Regions from separate parts of the Homo sapiens genome. Here region 1 is linked to region 2. The links are contacts of gene promoters, found by promoter capture Hi-C in human tissues and cell types (Jung and others, 2019). All regions are on one chromosome and are shown on one strand. Each heading gives the region's core, a stretch centred on a gene start or on the middle of the fragment in contact. The rest is flanking DNA. Distances are from core to core; before and after follow the strand shown.

Evidence for each region. The method cuts DNA at HindIII sites, captures the fragments that hold promoters and counts their contacts. A contact is called where the count stands out against the background at its distance.
Region 1: a contact is called between a fragment that was not itself captured here and the fragment with the promoter of NKX3-2 in region 2, in 1 of the 25 tissues and cell types used here (mesendoderm cells).

What each region holds. Positions count from the first base shown.
Region 1 is chr4:13,412,171-13,416,298 of GRCh38, forward strand. All of the region lies in intron 4 of RAB28 (RAB28, member RAS oncogene family), which reads right to left. Among named protein-coding and RNA genes, the nearest start is that of RAB28, 70 kb to the right of the region's middle. RefSeq lists an enhancer at 3,412-3,922. The HindIII fragment of the contact is 4,022 bases long and covers 679-4,128 here.
Region 2 is chr4:13,542,883-13,546,602 of GRCh38, forward strand. It overlaps NKX3-2 (NK3 homeobox 2), which reads right to left and starts at 1,626. Exons shown (of 2, transcript NM_001189.4): 1 at 1,067-1,626. The coding sequence starts at 1,532. It overlaps LINC01096 (long intergenic non-protein coding RNA 1096), which reads right to left. Exons shown (of 1, transcript NR_015450.1): 1 at 3,194-3,720. The HindIII fragment of the contact is 14,287 bases long and covers 1-3,720 here.

The sequences.
Region 1 (4,128 bases), core at 1,440-3,939, 130 kb before region 2:
ATGGTTAAGAGCGTAAAAGCTAACAGAGGAGAGCTATCCAGACTGCAAAACACAGAAAACTCCTTTAGAACATCCAGAACTTCTGAGATCCAGGTGGCGCAAGAGTTTCCCTAGATCACAACAGACCAAAGCATCAATGCTCAGATTGCTAGTAAGCAATCTGTTCATATATTCAGGAGAGCTGGGGGTGGGAGGAGAAGTGGGGATCTATACACCGCAAGCAACTATCTAATGTCAATCTGTGGCTGGGGGGAAGAACAATTAAAATATATATTCTCACACAAACAACCCTGTGTCGTAAGAAAAATTATTCTTAACCTAGAACATGGCCTTGACCTCTCTGTTCTAAGAGCCTCTTTAAAAAGACTGGCAAAAAAGGAGAGAGAAGTAGGGAAGATTTGGGGGAGTAGGAGGAGGGTGAGTTGCTGCGGGAAAAAATTTACCTCACTAAAAAGTGAAGAATAATAATACAGGAATCAGCACAGACTTTATACAAAGGCACAACAAGAAAACAAAAAGAATAAGAAAAAAACTAAAGACAAAGAGACTTACAGGAAATGAGTAGCCATGGAGCAAATGAAAGTTGTGACTAAATATTACCATATATTTTTAAAACTTAATTACACAACTACTTCTATAAAATAAGAAAGCAGAGATACAAAAACTCAGAGAAGTTATGGTAAGATAATAGGAAGTGATGAAACCTGAGCAAATAGCTTAAAAAGATACTGAAGAAATCAAAGCTAAATTAGAAGCAGCAGAAAAAGACACTACTGAAAAGATAAGGGACATGAAAGACAAGATTGAGAAATGCAACTACAAGGAAATAAAAACTTAAAAAGTGTAAAAAGGAGAGAAAAAAATATAGAAGACAAGCAAATATCTAATATGCAGATAACTGGTGTCCCCGAAAAAATAACAGAACAGAAAAAAATAATTTCACAAAAAAATGGAAGGATTTAAATCTATTTGTTTGAAAGGTATATGTTATCCATCAATCTCTCCACCCCAATAAACAGATACAGAATAATCAATACATATCAATGTATCTTATCTTGAAATCTAAGAAAGAATCTTTGGGACATACTGACAAAAAATTTAAGTCATTAATTATAATATTAAAAAATCAAACTTTCCTTAGACTTTTTGAAATTCAATACTGAAAAACAGCATGGTGACACAGACTTCTGAAGGAAATAAAGTGTGGCAAACTAATCTGCTGTCCAGCCAGTATGTTATTTAAACTTAAAACCAAGAATATTTCTGCACATGCAGTAACTCAAGGAATAAAGATCCTAGCAGCCCTTCTTTGTAAAAAGAAGACTACTCTTTATTCGGCTCTTGTCACACTATTTAATAGTACCCGCAGAGAAAAAAGCATAAAGTTTTAAGAGAGAAAATGAACCCAAAATTAATGAACCCGCAGAGAAAAAGCATAAAGTTTTAAGAGAGAAAATGAATGTTTTAAAAATTATGCATGATGTATAAAAACAAAAGATAGTAATAAATAAGAAAAGAAGAGATAGTTTTTTTATAAATTAGGAATGGAAAAAAGGGGATATAATCCCAGATGAGGAAGGGATTTTTAAAGACAGAGAATGCCAAGTATAACTTTATTCCAATAAACTTGTGCTAAAATGTTCAGACCCACAAAAATGACCACAGGCCACATTTGGCATAAGTCTATTCCAAAATATAGAAGACAAGAACTATAGCTTGCCAGCTGGCCAGCATCTAGTCTTTCTCAGAGGGAAACTACAGATTACACAGCAGTCTAGGAGCTATTTTCTCCTCAAGTGACAGCACAAATATGAGCATATGACAATGACACATGGGTATATGGTCAGCTCAGAAGCCCCGTTCCACAAGAGCCAATTTCTCTTGTAACATTCCATAAGCAAAGATTCCAGAGCCCCTCCAAATGACAAGCCACGCACGAGTCTCTGCACTCAGAAAAGCCCAAAAGCTACGGTTTCTAACAGTATTTATAGTTCATCTCTGGTCCCTCCCAGTCCAGCTGTTATTAACTAATCAGGTTTCATTTTTATCATAAAAATGTTCTGCAGTAATGTTATTGACACATACTACCTTAACAGGTTACCACGGGAACAGAGCTACATTGTTTAATTGAAGATCAGACACTTAAGCTGTAAGGGAAAGTCATTTGGCCATGCACCCATAATTCAAAAATCTAGATCAAATCATCCATGAAAATATAAATAACCCAAACTGACTGGGAATAAAAGAAGCAACACCAAATTCTCGTATCAAAGGGGAACTATAACAGGTAGTAAAAGATCTAACTCCAAAAGAGGTACCAAAATCCTGATGATTTTATAAATAAGTTATACCATACCTTCCGAAAATATAGTTCCTATGTCACTTCAACCAACTACAGTAAACAGAAACATATGGGGTATTTCCCAATTCATTTATGAAGCTGACATAATCTTGGTACTAAAACCAGACAAGGCTGGTACAAACTTCAGACCAATCTCATTTAAAAGCAAAGATTGTACATAAAACATTAAATTGTATCTAGCAGTATATAAAAGAAAATATGCTGTGACAAAAAAAGTTTAATTTAGGAATTACAAGGCTGGTTTAACATTAGATCTTTTTATGTAATCCATTATGAATAAGCAAAATGAGGAAAACATCATATATGCCTTCATTAAATAAAATTTAACTCATGTTCTTAATATGAAGATGAATAGGACAGGATGAAAACCAACTTCCTTAATTTGATAAAGAATACCAATTAGAAGCCAAAAACAAAATTCCTACTGAATGATAAAATACTAAATAAGGCAATTCTTATAAAGTCAGTATTAAGGGTTCTTGGTATCACAGTAGTTATTCAAAACTGTTCAAGAATTTTAGACAATTCAGTAAGATAAAAATAAGATGTAAGCTATAGGTAAGGAAGAAGAATCATCATTAATTGCAGATATAATGACATCATCAAAAGAGACTATCAGAGACTGACTTTTTAAAATATGCTGACTCAATTCACAATCACATATAAATGCTGAAAATATGTAAGTAGTATTGAGAGTTGACAGCATGCTGGCAGCCCTCACAGCCCTTGCTCACTCTCGGGGCCTCTCTGCCTGAGCTCCCACTTTGGCGGCACTTGAGGAAGTGCCCGCCGCTGGGCTGTTGGAGCCCCTTCCTGGGCTGGCTGAGGCCGGAGCCGGCTCCCTCAGCTTGCAGGGAGGTGTGGAGGGAGAGGCGCAGGCGGGAACCGGGGCTGCGCGGTGCTTGCAGGCCAGTGCAAGTTCAGGGTGAGTGTGGGCTCAGCGGGCTGCACTCAGAGCGCCCGGCCAGCCCTGCCGGCCCGGGCAATGAGGAGCTTAGCACCCAGGCCAGTGGCTGCAGAGGGTGTGCTGGGTCCCCCAGCAGTGCCGGCCCACTGGCACTGCGCTCGATTTCTTGCCGGGCCTTAGCTGCCTGCAGCCCGCCATGCCTGAGCCTCCCCCGCCCCCTCCAACCACGCCACCCTGGGCTCCTGTGTGGCCCAAGCCTCCCCAACGAGCACCATCCCCTGCTCTACGGCGCCCGGTCCCAATGACCACGCAAAGGCTGAGGCGTGCGGGCGCACGGCATGGGACTGGCAGGCAGCTCCACCTGCAGCCCCAGTGCAGGATCCACTGGGTGAAGCCAGCTGGGCTCCTGACTGGTGGGGACTTGGAGAACCTTTATGTCTAGCTAGGGGATTGTAAATACACCAATCGGCACTCTGTATCTAGCTCAAGGTTTGTAAACACACCAATCAGCACCTTGTGTCTGGCTCAGGGTTTGTGAATGTACCAATCGACACTCTGTATCTAGCTACTCTGTTAGGGACTTGGAGAACCTTTGTGTCTAGCTCAGGGATTGTAAACACACCAATCAGCACCCTGTCAAAACAGACTCGGCTCTCTGTAAAATGGAGCAATCAGCAGGATGTGGGTGGGGCCAGATAAGAAAATAAAAGCAGGCTGCCCAAGCCAGCAGTAGCAACCTGCTCAGGTCCCCTTCCACACTGTGGAAGCTTTGTTCTTTCACTCTTTGCAATAAATCTTGCTGCTGCTCACTCTTTTGGTCCACACTGCCTTTATGAGCTGTAACACTCACTGCGAAGGT
Region 2 (3,720 bases), core at 376-2,875:
GATTCTAGACTGCATTTCCGTCTCTCTGCTTGGGTTCACGCGCCTCTCCACACTTAGTTCACACGCACACACGCGCGCGTCCTCGCAGCACACACTTGTCTGGTGCAGGTAAGGGAAGGTGGAGGCGGATCCTGGGGCCAAAGGTATTTAGAATCTTTCACCCTCAGCCGCCTGGGATTGCTGTGAGAGACATGGAAACAGGCTGAGCCGAGGCCTTAGATGAGAGGATGGACTGGAGAGTAAAGAGGGAGGGTTGCCCCTGCATCGAGTTTTTGGACCCTGATCCCACACCAGCTTCTCGGTCTCGTACCCGCCCTTCCGAAGAACTCCAGCAGAAAGGTCCAGCGGTCCCCTGTGCTTGAGGCCTACAGAAGCTTGTACCCAACTAGGGCAGGCACCCGGGTCTTCCAGACCACAGGACAGGACAGGCCACGGCTGAGGAGGCCTCTCTCCTGCCTCCAGGATGAACTAAAGACCCAATCCGGGATCTTCGGCCTAGGGCTGCTCTCCCAGACCTGGGGTCTGAGAAAGCCAAACCAGCCCTTTCCCCAAAGCTCTAGTTCTGCAGATTCTCAGCTCTGGCCCACTCGGAGGTGTTCTTCACCACCTATCCACCTACTGTGGGGCCCGGCCCTGGGACCTTGAACTGGCAGGTCTCTGGTCCAGAGCTAGGTCACTGGCTACCTGAGGTCTCTGAACCCCTCACTTTTCCGCTTCCCTGATTTTGGGGATTTGGGGACAGACACGGCAGAAAGCACTGGCGACGAACTCAAAAACTCCCGAACGCAAGGGGCAGCGGTTCTCCCAACCCAGTCTAATGCACATTGGCCCAGGATGTCTCAGGCCTCACCCCAGGACGTAGGGCTCTGAGGAGCTACTCCGGTCTCTCGCGGGCTCAGTTCCCGAAGTGATAGAGCAGCTCGCGCCAGAGCGCAGAACTTCGGGATTTGGCCAGCCTCCGAGCCCCAGGGCGCAGGGTGCTCAAGCCGACCACCCCACTCGGCGTGGTTGCCCTCCGCGTCCATCCCCTCAGCCCGGCCCCCATCCCCGCGAAGCCGCAGCAGACCTGAGACGCTGGCGGACATCTCGCTGTCGCTCCGGCCCGCGGCTTCCTCCTCTAGGTCTTTGGAAGCGGCCAGCTCACAGACCGGCTGGCCGAGGCTCAAGGATCCCCCCGCAAGGCCGGCCCCGCTGGCCCCCCGCGCGTCCGCGCAGCGCCGCCTGCTCTCGTTCTCCTCGCTGAGCGCGGAGTCCGAGTCCCAGCCTTCCGGGCTCTCCGCAGTCCGCCCCGCAGCTGTTCTGGTACCGGCAGGAGACGCCAGCAGAGAGTCCTCGGCGCCCCCCAACGCGCCCGCGTCCCTCTCCCCAAAGAGCCGCCAACAGCAGACAGCGGGAGCCGCGGCCACCGATGCCGCTGTGCCCCCGGGCGCCGGGCGCCCCTCTGGCGCGGCCAGCCCGCCGCGCTCCTCTTTCTTGTTGAGGATCGCCTGGATGGAGAAGGACGTCAAGGTGTTGGCGCCGCGCACAGCCATCTGCGCCGCGGGCAGGAGCGGCCGGCGGGGCGGGCAGCTGGGGCGCCGAGCAGCTCCGAGCGGGACAGAGAGCGCCGGCGGCCGCAGCGCGAGTGAGCTGGGTGTGCGAGGCCGCCGCCGCCCACTGCTGCGCGGCCCAGCAGCTCCCGCCCCACTCCGTCCCAGGATCAGCGCCGACCCTCGCCCCCACCTTAGAGGCCCACCCCGCCCGGAGACCCCCTCCCCCCGAATCCAGAGCCAGACGCTCTCCTTTCGCAGCTCAGCTGGATTATCTCATCGCTTCTCGCCCTTAGGGGCGGGCTGGGGTCTGCCCCCTCGGGGGACGTGAAGGAGGATTGGCGGGGGCCCCTCCGTGGCAGCAGTCCCCTCCCGAGCGCCGCCGGGGCGCACAGCCCGAGTCACTTTTTCTTTGCGCGTCTGTCCCTTCCTCGCCTGCAGGATTTCGCTCCTGGCCCGTCCTCCCCTTCCCTGCTGGGCAGGCTCTTCCGGAGCCCACCCCCGGCGGCGGCGGCGGTAGCCGCGGCCGCGGCCGCTGGATTCCGAGAGGCGCGGGGAACTTTTTTACCCCCTGCCCTGGTTTTATCTGTTTCTTTTCTCTTTCCTTCCCTTGCGTTCCACTGTACCACCCCCCTCCCGCCCGGGTGTCATTCCTCACTGCTGAGTGACAGCCTGAGGCCACACCCCTCCACTGGGCTGTCCCGGGCGCTCCCGGCCGTCCATTGGCTGGCTCCAGTTGGGCGACGTTGACTTTAACAGACAAAACTGGGCACGTTGCGCCGCTAAAGACAGGGTCTGACTTAACCCCTTCTCTCCTAAGCCTGGTCCTCGAAGCACCCTCCAGCAACAAGGAGGCTCATCCGACCCAAACCACGTTTCTTACCTCTGCAGATGTATCCACTTATTCCAGCGCTTTAACAGAACACTGATACTAAGTTGAGTCAAATCTGCGGAGAAAATCCAAGATAATGCAGTTCCATAAATCATGCTCGTAGTTTCTGTTCTCTAGGAAGGATTATAAACACGAAGAACAAAATGCATCCTTTTTTTTCTCCCTACAGTTTCGCCGCTTCTTCATTGCTAATGCTCTTTGCTGAAATGATCAGTTAATTAAGATCACTCTAGAAATATTTTTCTTTCCTCGTCGTCTTTGATTTGATTCGATTTTTATAGAGGAATTATAAAAAAATGGTATAGTTAGAACTAAAGTCAGGAGAAGAATTGAAAGGCATCTTTGGGAGAATTTCTGTAAATTTTATGGTCGTTTCCCTGGCAGACCAATATTGAATTTAATTGGAGTTTGTTAAGTTTTGCATCAGGAAGAAAAAAAAAACTTTCAATTTGTTTTTTTTAAATATCTCTTACTTGTGAGTTGAATAAAATTATAAATAGATATGTTTGTTTGCTTAGAAGTATACCTAGGAATTACCATAAAGTGATCCAGAAGTGACAACACTTTTTGCTCTTTAAAAAATAAGAAATGCATTGTATTATGTAATAGTAGGAACCAAGCTAAGAAACACAAATATTGTGGGTATATAAAAACATTTTAAAATGTGTTATTCCTTTTTTAATATAAAATTTGCTCAATTAACGTACTTCACTGTTTTCCATAAACTTTACCAGAGAGTTAACACCAAATACACAAACTTGAACCATTAAATACATTTAAAGGACTATGATTTTAATTTATTAAATTGCTAGGATTGGTAGTTTTGGTGTCATTAAAATAAATAACATCTCCCCTTGTTGCTTTCTTTTTGGTTGTTCTTTTTCTGCACCGCAGAAGGAAATACACTGACTATTCATAGTTCTCAGTCTCAGAATGAGGTTTTGCAGCATCTATACTTTTCAGCATTTCGGTTACATGATGCTTTCTTGCTTTGTGCAAACCTTGTAGGGTACCTGGGAAAAAACATCCACTTGAGGTCATTGCCCTTTACAGCTCTTTACAATTACATCAGTTTTGAAGGAACGCCATTTAAATTTGGTGTCAGTGCTCAGCAAGTGTAAGGACGCAGAGTGGAACAGCAGAATGCTTACAGTCTTTCAAAAACAGTGTGTCCTCTCCTCCCCCGCTGTATTATTTAAATTACCGTTCTCCTCACTTCGGGCAGGGATGTTGGGAATTATGTATAGTGAGGAGATTGACACTGGTTGCCTGGAAGGTAGGGGACGGGCAGGTATGGGT